Regions from separate parts of the Homo sapiens genome. Here region 1 is linked to region 2. The links are contacts of gene promoters, found by promoter capture Hi-C in human tissues and cell types (Jung and others, 2019). All regions are on one chromosome and are shown on one strand. Each heading gives the region's core, a stretch centred on a gene start or on the middle of the fragment in contact. The rest is flanking DNA. Distances are from core to core; before and after follow the strand shown. Region 1 has its middle 4.1 kb from the start of TMEM219. Region 2 holds the start of MAPK3 (mitogen-activated protein kinase 3).

Region 1 (6,995 bases), core at 2,607-5,106, 160 kb before region 2:
GTGGCGCTTCCCTATAATCCCAGCTACTCCAGAGGCTGAGGCAGGAGAATTGTTTGAACCTGGGAGGCAGAGGCTGTGGTGAGCCGAGATCACGCCATTGCACTCCAGCCTGGGCAACAAGAGTGAAACTCCGTCTCAAAATAAATAAATAAATAAATAAATAAATAAATAAATAAATAAATAAATAAAATCATGAAAGGGTGTTCATTTTTTCAAAGCCTTTTCTGCATCAATTGAGATGACCATGTGTTTTCTCCCCGGTTCATTCTATTAATGTGGTGTATTACATTGATTTTTTTCTTTTTTTTAAGACAGAGTCTTGCTCTGTCGCCCAGGCTGGAGTGCAGTGGCTTGATCTCAGCTCACTGCAACATCTGCCTCCCAGGTTCAAGTGATTCTCTTGCCTCAGCCTCCCAAGTAACTGGTATTATAGGCACCTGCCATCATGCATGGCTAATTTTTGTATTTTTAGTAGAGACGGGGTTTCACCATGTTGGGCAGGCTTCTCTCAAACTCCTGACCTCAGGTGGTCTGGCTGCCTCGGCCTCCCAAAGTGCTGGGATTACAGGTGTGAGCCACTGCACCCAGCCACACTTTGCATATTTTGAAGTGCATCTATTTACTTAGCATTCGTGACTTGAATAATTTCACCAAATGAATAATTTTGGGTAGTTTGAAATTCGTTCTTCCAATTGTTACACCTTGTTTGGTGTTTGTAATAAACACGTAAAGGTAAAAAAAAACAGTTTTTCTGTATTCTGCCAATCATACTTTTATATAATAAATCATCCATTTTTTTCCCATAAAAAAAAAGAAAGTTATTGCTTAATGTTACAGAATTTCTGTTTGGAGTGATGAAAAAGTTTTGGAAATAGTAGTGACAGTTGCACAAAATTGTGAATGTAATTAATACCACTGAACTGTGCACTTAAAAATAGCTAAAATGGCCAGGTGCAGTGGCTCATGTCTGTAATCCCAGCACTTCCGGAGGCCAAGGCAGGTGGATCACCTGAGGTCAGGAGTTCAAGACCAGCCTGGCCAATACGGTGAAACCTCGTCTCTACTAAAAATACAAAAAATTAGCCAGGTGTAGTGGCAGACACCTGTAATCCCAGTTACTTGGGAGGCTGAGGCAGGAGAATCACTTGAACTCAGGAAGTGGAGGTTGCAGTGAGCCAAGATTGCACCATTGCATTCCAGCCTGGGCAACAGAGCGAGATCTGTCTCAAAAAAAAAAAAAAAAAGCTAAAATGGCAAGTTTTATATTATATATGTTGTTTACCACACACACACACACAAATACTAAGAAAAAAATCAGGCAGATCCTCTTCTAACAACACTTACAGTCTATTAAGTGAATCTGGGCATTTTAAAGAAAAAAATAACTATTTTTGGTTACGGAATCAGGATAGTAGTTGCCTATGGACACGGGCAGTGGGGACTGACTAGAAAGGGAAGGGAAGGAAGTTCTTGGACCTAGAAGTGTTTTATGTCTTGATTGGGGTGTTTAGATAGGCATTACATTTGTCAAAACTCATGAAATTTTATACTTTAAGATCTGTGCATTTCACTCTATGTAAATTTTACCTTAGTAAAAAACAAAACAGGCTGGGCGTGGTGGCTCACGCCTGTAATCCCAGCACTTTGGGAAGCCAAGGTGGGTGGATCACTTGTAGTCAGAGGTACGAGACCAGCCTAGCAACATGGTGAAACCCCATTTCTACTAAAAATACAAAAGAAATTAGCTGGGTGTGGTGGCAAGCGCCTGTTATCCCAGCTACTTAGGAGGTTGAGGCAGGAGAATCGCTTGAACCTGGGAGCTGGAGGTTGCAGTGAACTGAGATGGACCCACTGCACTCCAGCCTAGGTGACCGAGCGAGACTCCATCTCAAAACAAAACAAAACAAAAAATGTTAGCAACTTCTAATCCCTTGACAGTTTATATATACCGCAGTGATTTTCTCCCACTTCTCACTCACGTGGGATCTTATCATACAGAGGTTTTAAATTTTAAACAATTAAATTTATCAACCTTCTTCATTTATGGTTTCTATATTTGTGTGTCTTGCTTCAGAAAGTATCTCTTATTCCAGGTAATCATATTATCCTATTTTTAAATTCTATTTTGGAATAAATATTTCTTATTCCAGGCAATCATATTATTCTATTTTTTTTCTATATTTTTATTGTTCTTTCCTGTGTGGGACATGTAGCTGGTGGGCTAGCTGCAGACCACGGGCAAGTTTGCTAACATTGCTAAGTCTTGGTTTTCTCATCCATAAAATAGGGATAATAATTTGCTTTGTTATTGACATGATTTAATAAAGTAATATTTATTTGTTTATGTATTTATTTTAGAGACAGGGTCTTACTCTGTTACCTAGGCTGAAGTGCAGTGGCAATCTCGGTTCATTGCAGCTCAAGTGATCCTTCTGCCTTAGCCTCCAGAGTGGCTGGGACTACAGGTACTGGGACTACAGGATGGGACTACAGAGTGGCTGGGCATCCAGCTAACTTAAAAATTTTTTTGGGCTGGGTGCAGTGGTTCATGCCTGCAATCCCAGCACTTTGGGAGGCCGAAGAGGGATTAAGAGGTCAGGAATTTGAGACCAACCTGGCCAAGATGGTGAAACCCCGTCTCTACTGAAAATACAAAAATTAGCCGGGCGTGGTGGCAGGCACCTGCAGTCCCATCAGGAGGCTGAGGTGGGAGAATCGCTTGAACCCGGGAGGTGGAGGTGGCAGTGAGCCGAGATTGCGCCATTGCACTCCAGCCTGGGCTACAAGAGTGAAACTCCACCTTAAAAAAAAAAAAAAAAAGCCGGGCGCGGTGGCTCACACCTGTAATCCCAGCACTTTGGGAGGCCGAGGCGGGCAGATCACGAGGTCATGAGATCGAGACCACCCTGGCTAACATGGTGAAACCCTGTCTCTACTAAAAAATACAAAAAATTAGCTGGGTGTGGTGGCAGGCACCTGTAGTCCCAGCTACTTGGGAGACTGAGGCAGGAGAATGGTGTGAACCCAGGAGGCGGAGCTTGCAGTGAGCAGAGATCATGCCACCGCACTCCAGCATGGGCAACAGAGCGAGACTCCGTCTCAAAAAAAAATTTTTTTTTGGCCAGTCACGATGTGTCACACCTGTAATCCTAGCACTTAGGGAGGCCAAGGCGGGTGGATCACTTGAGGTCAGGAGTTTGAGACCAGCCTGGCCAACATGGTGAAACCCCGTCTCTACTAAAAATACAAAAATTAGCCAGGGACAGTGGCATGCCTCTGTAATCCCAGCTACTCAGGAGACTGAGGCAGGAGAATCACTTGAACCCAGGAGTTGGAGGTTGCAGCGAGCCGAGATCACACCACTTCACTCCAGTCTGGGCGACAGAGCAAGACTCCATCTCAAAAAAAAAAAGTCTAGATGGGGCCGGGCAGGGTGGCTCACACCTGTAATCCCAGCACTTTGGGAGTCTGAGGCGGGTAGACGGCTTGAGCTCAGGAGTTCGAGACCAGACTGCACAACATGGTGAGACCCCGTCTCTACTAAAAATACAAAAAGAGAGAAAAAAAAATAGCTTGGCATGGTGGTGCACACTTGTGGTCCCAGCTACTTGGGCGGATGAAGTGGGAGGATTGCTTGAGCATGGTGAGGAGGGAGGTTGCACTGAGCCAAGATTGCGCCACTGCCCACCAGCCTGGGTGACAGACCAAGACCCTGTCTCAAAAAAAAAAAGAAACAAAAAAAAGGTGGGGCTCACTGGCTCACACCTGTAATCCCAGCACTTTGGGAAGCTTAAGGTGGATGGATCACTTGAGGTCAGGAGTTCGAGACCAGCCTGGATGACATGGCAAAACCCTGTCTCTACTAAAAATACAAAAAAATTAGCTGGGCCTGGTGACGCACGCCTGTAGTCCCAGCTACTAGGGAGGCTGAGGCAGGACAATTGTTTGAACTCAGGAGGCAGAGGTTGCCGTGAGCTGAGATCGCACCACTGCACTCCAGCCTGGGTAACCAGAGTGAAACTCTGCCTCCAAAAAAAAAAAAGAAGAAGAAGAAAAAAGGTTTAGGCAAACATGCACTTTTCCTGTTGCTTTTTTTTTTTTTTTTGAGATGGAGTTTCGCTCTTGTTGTCCAGGCTGGAGTGCAATGGCGTGATCTCGGCTCACTGCAACCTCCGCCTCCTGGGTTCAAGCGATTCTCCTGCCTCAGCCTCCCAAGTAGCTGAGATTACAGGCATATGCCACCACGCCCGAATAATTTTGTATTTTTAGTAGAGATGGGGTTTCTCCATGTTGGTCAGACTAGTCTTGAACTCCCAACCTCAGGTGATCCTCCCGCCTCGGCCTCCCAAAGTGCTGGGGTTACAGGCATGAGCCACTGCGCCCAGCCTGAACATGCCAGATTGTAGTTCCAGGAGGCCAGAGATCATGAATACTTTGTCCACCACTATATTCCCAGCCCACAGAATACACAGCCTGGCAGCCAACAGATGCTTATTGAATGAACGAGCCTCAACAGGGCTTTCTCATTCCCACATGCCATGCTGTGGTCAGGCTTAAATCATAACCCAACTTCTGCCACCTAATATATGTATGACCTTGGTTAAATTAAACCAGCAGTCCCCAACCTTTTTGGCACTGGGGACCAGTTTCATGGAAGACAATTTTTCCACCAGGGGAGGAATGGTTTCGGGATGATTCAAGCACATTACATTTATTTTGCACTTTATTTCTATTATTATTACATTATAAGGTATAATAAAATAATTATACAACTCATCATAAAGTAGAATCAGTGGGATCCCTGAGTTTGTTTTCCTGCAACTAGATAGTCCCATCTGATGTTGATGGGAGACAGTGAGAGATCATCAGGCATTAGATTCTCATAAGGAGCAACCTAGATCCCTCGCATGCGCAGTTCACAATAGGATTCATGCTCCTATGATAATCTAATGCCGCTACTGATCTGACAGGAAGCAGAGCTGAGGCGGTAATGCAGGCAATGGGGAGTAGCTGTAAATACAGATGAAGCTTCTCTCACCAGCCATTCACTTCCTGCTGTGCGGCTCAGTTCCTAACACGTCACGGACTGGTACTGGCCCCACGGCCCAGGGGTTGGGGACCCCTGACTTAAACTAAGGGCCAGCTTTCCAGAATAACATCCACTTTGAGGGCTTGTTGAGTGGATTAAGTCAAAATGTTGGTATACTTGGCTGGTGCGGTGGTTCACACCTGTAATCCCAGCACTTCGTGAGTCTGAGGCGGGTGGATCACCTGAGGTCAGGAATTTGAGACCAGCCTGGCCAACATGATGAAACCCCATCTCTACTAAAAATACAAAAAATTAGGCCGGGCGCGGTGGCTCACGCCTATAATCCTAGTACTTTGGGAGGCCAAGGCGGGTGGATCATTTGAGGTCAGGAGTTTGAGATCAGCCTGGCCAATATGGTGAAACCCTGTCTCTACTAATAAGTACAAAAATTAGTCAGGTGATAGTGGCGTGTGCCTGTAATCTCAGTTACTCGGGAGGCTGAGGCAGGAGAATCCCTTGAGCCTGAGAGGCAGAGGTTGAGGTGAGCTGAGATTGGGCTGTTGTTGAGTTGTAGGAGTTCTTTATATATTATAGATATTAACCCCTTATAAGATATATGATTTGATATTTCCTCTCATTCTGTTGGTTGCCTTTTCACTGTCCTTTCCTTTTTTTGTTTTTGTTTTTTGTGGGGCAGAGTTTTGATCTTTTGCCCAGGCTGGAGTGAAGTGGTGCAATCTCAGCTCACTGCAACCTCCACTCCCCAGGTTCAAGCGATTCTCCAGCCTTAGCCTCCGGAGTAGCTGGGATTATAGGCGCCCGGCACCATGCCTGGCTAATTTTGTACTTTTAGTAGAGATGGGGTTTCACCATGTTGGCCAGGCTGGTCTCAAACTCCTGACCTCAGGTGATCCACCCGCCTCGGCCTCCCAAAGTGCTAGGATTACAGGCTTGAGCCACCGTGCCCAGCCTGTTGTGTCCTTCGATGCACAGAAAAGACTCTTTTCTCTACTGAACGCCCACAGCACCCTTGTCAAAAATCATTTGACTAGTCAGGGCACAGTGGCTCACGCCTGTAATCCCAGCACTTTGGGAGGCCGAGGCGAGAGGACTGCTTGAGGTCAGGAGTTCGAGACATGCCTGGGCAACATGGCAAATGGCAAAACCCCGTCTCTACACACAATGCAAAAGTTAGCTGGGCATGGTGGGTGGCGTGTGACTACCGGCTGTCTCAACTACCCAGGAGGCTAAGGCGGGAGGATCTCTTGAGCCCAAGACGTCCAGACTGCAGCGAGCTTTGATTGTGCCACTGAACTCCAGCCTGGGCGATGACAGAGCAAGGCTCTGTCAAAAAAAAAAAAAAAAAAAAAAAAAAATCGGCCGGGTGTGGTGGTTCACGCTTGTAATCCCAGCACTTTGGGGGGCCGATGCGGGCAGACCACGAAGTCAAGAGATCAAGACCATCCCGGCCAACATGGTGAAACCTCGTCTCTACTAAAAATACAAAAATTAGCTGGGCGTGGTGGCGTGCGCCTGTAGTCCCAGCTACTCGGAAGGCTGAGGCAGAAGAATAGCTTGAATCCGGGAGGCGGAGGTTGCAGTGAGTCGAGATCGCGCCACTACACTCCAGCCTGGCGACAGACTGAGACCCCGTCTCAAAAAAAAAAAAAATCATTTGTATATGCGAAGGTTTTGTGCCACAAACTTTTGTGGCTGTTGATACAAACGACATGGCCTCTGCCTTAAGGAAGCCACAGTCGAATTAAATAGATTCCGTTTCAAGTAGCATCTGTCCTGTGTGCTTAGTGGGCACTGGGCCCATGTTTTCCCACATTTTACCCTTTAAGCTTCTGATCCAACCGGTGAGATAGATAGGATGATCCTCTTTAGTAGAGGGGTAAGCTTAGTCCCCTGAGAGCGCGGCTATGGCTTATGCGAGGGTACGGACAGTCAGGATTTGAACCCA
Region 2 (6,749 bases), core at 77-2,576:
AGCGCAGCAGGATCTGGATCTCCCGGAGCGTGCGCTGGCAGTAGGTCTGATGTTCGAAGGGGCTGATCTTCTTGATGGCCACGCGAGTCTTGCGCACGTGGTCATAGGCCGAGCTGAGGGGACCGGAGAGAGGCTGCTGCTGTGGCCTTACAAAGGGGGAGTCCGGGCCTGGTGGCCCCACCCAGGCCTTGGCAGGGAGGGGAGAGAGCAGGAGCTGGCTCTGGTCAAATCATAAACAATGCTGGTTCCTTCCTGCTGTGGAGGCCTGGGATCTCCAGAGAGAAAGCTGGGGACCAGCCAGGCGGCCCTTCGGTGACTTTACAAACAGAGGAAGAGACTGACCGCTCACTGACTTCCCCTCTCCTCAATCCCCTTCCATTCTACTGGCCCTGAACCCTTCGCCCCCATTCCCAGGAAAGGCTCCTTAACCCAAGACAGGTCCGGGGGTGCAGATGCTGGGGACACACCATGGGGCAAATACTGGGAAGGTGGCAGCCAGGGGAGGGGCAGGAGAGAATGGACAGGGCAGGGGAGGGTCCCAGGGTGAGGGATCCGGGCAGCGGGGCTGTCCCAGAGGGATAGAGGCCCAGAGCACACGGTGGGGCCGGGGGCACTCACAGACCCCTCCCAAAACATGCAGGTGGCACTCCTGGCCGCCTCATCTCTCTCTGGGCCCCTGGGGTGGTGGGGCCAAAGCCCTGCCCCACCCTGATCTCGGCTCTTCTCCCCCAGGCTCCCTGGCACTGCCTCACAGGGGGAATCCAAGACACCCTTTCCCCCAAAACGGGCCCTCCACTGCCTCTTCACTAAGGATGTCGCCTCCCCGAGAGTACTCATCCTCTGGGCCTCGCCCCGTGTCACTAGGGTCCCCGCGGGCCCCCACATGCACTCGGATGCCCCTCCCATCATTACAGAAGGGTGGACTCAAAGCCTCCAAGCCTGCTCCCCTGAGGACGTAGGCAGCGCCCCCTCCCCCAGAAAGCACTCAGGGGCCCCCTCCCTGGGACGCTCCCGATCATCCCGAGTCTCCTGCCTCCTCGGGACGCTCCGCGTCTCCACGTCCCGGAAAGCGCTCGGCGCCTCCTCCTCCTCTCCCGCGAAGCCCCCTCCCCTGAGGGCACCCCCTCCCCCGGAACGCCCCCTCACCTGACCATGCCGTACGCGCCCTCGCCGATGTACTGCAACTGCGTGTAGCGCGGGCCCACGTCGAACGGCTGCCCCTTCACCATCTCCACCTCCCCCGGGACCCCCGGGCCGACCCCCTCGGTTCTACGGGGCTCCCCGCCCCCGCCCCCCTGAGCCGCCGCCGCCGCCATCTCCACTCCTCCCCTCCCACCGCCCTCCTCCCCACGGCGGCCCCGCCCGAGGCCCCGCCCCTTCCCGCCTGCCTGTCACCCGCAGGGCCGCGCGCGCCAGGCCCCGCCCTTGCCCCGGCCCCGCGTGGGCCTGGAGCTGTCACGTGACCCGCCCCGCGCGCGCCCGCCCTTCTTGCCCCAGGTTCGGGGGCCATGGGTCCCTGCGGGCTCCGCGGCCTCCAGGTCACCGGGAGGTTCGGCAGCGCCGCCTCGGAGACTGTCCTCACCCTCCCCTCGATGGCGAAGCGGCCAGGGCGTGACCTACCAGAGCCACCCAGCCAATGTATGCGGCAGCCCACCAGAACCTGGGCCCGGGATCACCCTAGGTTAAAAATAATGTTCTAATAAATGGATCAAATTTTACAGATGGAGAATCTGAGAGTTAGGTTTACTAACTTGGGTAAGGTCACTAGTAGTGACAGCTGAGACTCAAAATGGTGTCTTCTGACACAGAGACTCTTTCTAATTCCATGCCTCTCAGAGTCCTAGACTGTTTTTATTTTATTATAGAGACAGGGTCTCTCTCTGTCGTCCAGGCTGGAGTGTAGTGGTGCAATAATTGCTCACTGCAGCCTCAACCTCCCTGGGGTCAAGTGATCCTCCCACCTCAGCCTCCCAAAGAGCTGGGACTACGAGTGCGCGCCACCACGCCCTGCTAATTAAAAAAAAAAATTGGGGGGCTGGGCACGGTGGCTCACGCCTGTAATCCCAGCACTTTGGGAGGCCGAGGTGGGCAGATCACCTGAGTTTGAGACCAGCCTGACCAACATGGTGAAACCCCGTCTCTACTAAAAATACAAAAATTAGCTGGGCATGGTGGCACGTGCCTGTAATCCAAGCTACTTGGGAGACTGAGGCAGGAGAATCGCTTGAACCCGAGAGGAGGAGGTTGCAGTGAGCTGAGATTGCACCACTTCACTCCAGCCTGGGCGACAGAGCAACACTCCGTCTCAAAAACAAAAAACAAAAAGAAGAAGAGAAAAAGTAGGGTTGCAGAAGGTAGGGACTGAAGAAAGGCATGAAGGAGAAGGATCGGGGTGAGCTGAGGCATAAAGGCAGAAGCATAACTTGTCCAGCATGGCTGCAGTAAAAAAATGATGAGGTTTCAGCCTGGAGAGGTAGGTTGGGGCCAGATTAGGAAGGCTCTGGATTCTGGCAAGGAGTTTGGATGTTACTCAGTAAGCAGTAAAAACCCTAGAGGGACTTTTGCCAGATCATTTTGCAACTGCGGGAGAATATAGTGACTCAGAGAAAACACTATGGAGTTCAGCATGGAGCCAGGTTTGCTGAGTGGGAGTGAGTTTCCCAGCATAGGAAAGGCTGGTGTATCAGAGCTGCAAGCTGCCACCTCCTGCTGCTGGAAGCTCAGTTAGAGTGTGACTGAGATTCCCCTCTAGTGACTGAGGTTGGCATTTCCTTGGAGGACTGGACTGGGATTTGTTCTGGTTCATAGACGCATATTCAACTAATGTAGACTTACCATCTCTTCTGTGCCAGGCACTTTTGGTTTTTTTTTGTTTGTTTGTTTGTTTGTTTTTTTGAGACGGAGTCTTGCTCTATCACCCAGGCAGGAGTGCAAGCTCACTGCAACCCCTACCTCCTGGGTTCAAGTCATTCTCCCACCTCAGCCTCCCAAGTAGCTAGGATTACAGGCGCCAGCCACCACGCCCGGCTAATTTTTGTATTTTTAGTAGAGACGAGGTTTCACCATGTTGGCCAGGCTGGTCTCAAACTCTTGACCTCAGGTGATCCACCCACATTGGCCTCCCAGAGTGCTGAGATTACGGCACCTGGCTTGCCAGGCACTTTTATGTACACTACCTCCTGTAATCCTCACAGCAGCCATATGAAGTAGATACTATTAACATTTAACTGGAAAATGATGCTGGCTGGTCGTGGTGGCTCACCTCTGTGATTCCAGCACTTTGGGAGGCTGAGGCAGGCTGATTGCTTGACCCCAGCAGCTGGAGACCAGCCTGGGCAACATAGTGAGATCCCATCTCTACCAAAAATACAAAAATGAGCTGGGTGTGGTGGCATGCGTCCGTAATCCCAGCTACTTGGGAGGCTGAGGCAGGAGGATCAGTTGAGCCCAGGATGTTGAGGTTGCAGTGAGCTCTGATGGTGCCACTGCACTCCAGCCTGGGTGACAGAGTGAGAGACCCTGCCCCCACCCCCACCCCCCCAAAAAAAGGGACAGAGGGAAAACGATGTGGAAGCTTACGCTCTGTCACCCAGGCTGGAGTGCAGTGGCGCGATCTCAGCTCACTGCAAGCTCCGCCTCCCAGGTTCACGCCATTCTCCTGCCTCAGCCTCCTGAGTAGCTGGGACTGCAGACACCCGCCACCATGCCTGGCTAATTTTTTGTATTTTTAGTAGAGACGGGGTTTCACCGTGTTAGCCAGGATGGTCTCCATCTCCTGACCTCATGATCCACCTGCCTCGGCCTCCCAAAGTGCTAGGAGTACAGGCGTGAGCCACTGTGCCCGGCAGAATTATTTTTCTAGCACAGGGTCTTGCTCTGTTGCCCAGGCTGGAGTGGAGTGTAGTGGCAAGATCATAGGTCACTGCAGGCTCGAACTCTTAGGCTCAACAGATCCTGCCACCATGCCTAGCACACACAACCACGCCTAGCTAATTTTTTTTTTTTGTTTTTGAAACGGAGTCTTGCTCTGTTGCCCAGGCTGGAGTGCAATGGTGCAATCTCAGTTCACTGCAACCTCTGCCTCCCGGGTCTCCTGCCTCAGCCTCCTGAGTAGGTGGAACTACATGCGTGTGCCACCATGCCTGGCTAATTTTTTGTATTTTTATTAGAGAGGGGGTTTCACCGTGTTAGCCAGGATGGTCTCTATCTCCCGACCTCGTGATCCGCCCGTGTCGGCCTCCCAAAGTGCTGAGATTACAGGTGTGAGCCACTGCGCCCAGCATTTTTTTTTTTTTTTTTGAGATGGAGTCTCCCTCTGTGCCCAGGCTGGAATGCAATGGCACAATCTCGGCTCACCTTGACCTCTACTTCCCAGGTCAAGCGATTCTCCTGCCTCAGCCTTACAAGTAGCTGGGATTACCGGCACACGTCACCACGCCTGGCTAATTTTTATATATTTAGTAAAGATGGGGTTTCACCATGTTGGCCACGCAGGTTTCAAACTCCTGACCTCAAGTGATCTGCCCACTTTGGCCTCCCAAAGTGCTGGGATTACAGGTGTGAGCCACCGTGCCTGGCTTGGCTAATTTTTAGAATGTTTGTAGAGAAGGGTTCTAGCTAATGTTGCCCAGTCTGGTCTCAAATTTCTAGGCTCAAGTGATCCTCTCACCTCGGCCTTTCGGAGTGCTAGGATTACAGTCATGAGCCACTTCGGCTGGCTCCAGATTAAATCTTAAACCAGTTATTAGCTTTTTGTGATTTTCAAGGTCTGGCACTTCTTTTTTTCTTTCTTTCTTTCTTTTTTTTTTTTTTTGAGGCAGTGTCATGCTGTGTCGCCCAGGCTGGACTGCAGTGGTGCGGTCATGGCTCACTGCAACCTCTGCCTCTCAGGCTCAAATGATCCTCTCACCTCAACCTTCTGAGTAGCTGGGACCACAAGCATGTGTCACCATGCCCAGCTAATTTTAGTATTTTTGGTAGAGATGGGGTTTCACCGTGTTGCCCAGGCTGGTCTCAAATGATCCGCCCACCTTGGCCTCCCAAAGTGCTGGGATTACAGGCATGAGCCACCATGCCTGGCCTGAAATAGTTATTTATTCTTCTTATTATTAGTAGTAGTATTCTGGTCTTTCATGACCGTAGACTTTTGAAGATTATAGGTCAGTTATTTTGTAGAATGTCCCTCAGTTTGGGTTTGTCTGATATTTCCTTGTGATTCTCATGTCACTTTGCCTTTACTATTGTATTGTATCGAGACGAGGTTCACCATGTTACCCAGGCTAGTCTTGAACTCCTGGTCTCAAGAGATCTGCCCACCTTGGCCTCCCATCATGCTGGGATTACAGGTACAGGTGTGAGCCACTGCGCCTGGCCTTTCTTTTCATTTCATTTCTTTCCTTTTTTTTGAGACAGGGTCTCGCTCTGTTGCCCAGGCTAGAGTGCAGTGGCATGATCACAGCTCACTGCAGTCTCAACCTCCCAGGCTCAAATGATCTCCCTTCCTCAGCCTCCCAAGTAGCTGGCACTACAGGTACACAATACCACATCTGGCTAATTCTTTTTGTATTTTTATTAGGATGGGTTTCACCATGTTGGCCAGGCTGGTCTCAAACTCCTGACCTCAAGTGATCCACCTGCCTTGGCCTCCCAAAGTGCTAGGATTACAGGTGACAGCCACTGCGCCTGGCCTAATTTTTTAAATTTTTTGTAGACACGACAGTCTGGCTATACTGCCCAGGCTGGTTCTTTTTTTTCCCCCTGAGTCAGAGTCTTGCCCTGTCACCCAGGCTGGAGAGCAGTGGCTCGATCTCAACTCACTGCAACCTCCACCTCCTGGGTTCAAGCAATTCTCCTGCCTCAGCCTCTCGAGTAGCTGGGATTACAGGTGCCCGCCACCACGCCTGGCTAATTTTTGTATTTTTAGTAGAGATGGGGTTTCACCATGTTGGCCAGGCTGGTCTTGAACTCCTGACCTCGTGATCTGCCCGCCTCGGCCTCCCAAAGTGCTGGGATTACAGGCATGAGCCACTGCGCCCGGCCCCAGGCTGGTCTTAACTAGGTTCCTTTCTGTCTGTCTCCTTCCTCCTCAGATATGCCTAAAACATGGCCCTGATGAGGTTGTAGTAGGCAGGAATCTTTCAGTAACAAGTCTTCAAAGACCCAACTCAAAAGGACTCAAGCAAGAAAGGAGGTGCATTGGCTTACTGACTGTGAAGACACAGTTGGCTCCACTGACTCAAACAGTATCATTAGGACTTTGATCCCTCCCTTAGCTCAACTTTCTTCTGAGTTGGTTCCATTCTTAGCCACCCCCTCCTCTCAGAGTAGCCAGATGGAAGCTAGTACTTGCAGATTCGTGTCTGGTTTTTTCAGTAACTCCAGCAAGGGAAAGCTCTTCTCTCTCTGTCTCTCTTTCTCCCTGTCTCTGTCTCTTGTAATGCAAGGCCTAGATTTGACTCTTATTGGTTACTAGTTTTTTTGAGACAGAGTCTCCCTCTGTCACCCAGGCTGGAGTGCAATGGTGCGATCTTGGTTCACTGCAACCTCCACCTTCTGGGTTCGAGAGATTTTCCTGTTTCAGCCTCCCGAGTAGCTGGGATTACAGGCGCCCGCCACCACGCCCGGCTAATTTTTGTATTTTTAGTAGAGACGGGGTTTGGCCATGTGGGCCATGCTGGTCTCAAATTCCTGGCCTCAAGCGATCCACTCACCTCAGCCTCTGAAAGTGCTTTGATAACAGGCATGAGCCA

The links. Contacts are between HindIII fragments. The study calls those that stand out against the background at their distance.
Region 1: a contact is called between a fragment that was not itself captured here and the fragment with the promoter of MAPK3 in region 2, in 1 of the 25 tissues and cell types used here (aorta).

Annotation. Positions count from the first base shown.
Region 1 is chr16:29,954,459-29,961,453 of GRCh38, forward strand. No RefSeq gene overlaps it. Among named protein-coding and RNA genes, the nearest start is that of TMEM219, 4.1 kb to the right of the region's middle. RefSeq lists an enhancer at 6,994-6,995. The HindIII fragment of the contact is 4,191 bases long and covers 1,762-5,952 here.
Region 2 is chr16:30,121,894-30,128,642 of GRCh38, forward strand. It overlaps MAPK3 (mitogen-activated protein kinase 3), which reads right to left and starts at 1,327. Exons shown (of 9, transcript NM_002746.3): 1 at 1,147-1,327; 2 at 1-113. The coding sequence starts at 1,316. RefSeq lists a silencer at 1,319-1,688. The HindIII fragment of the contact is 30,345 bases long and covers 1-6,749 here.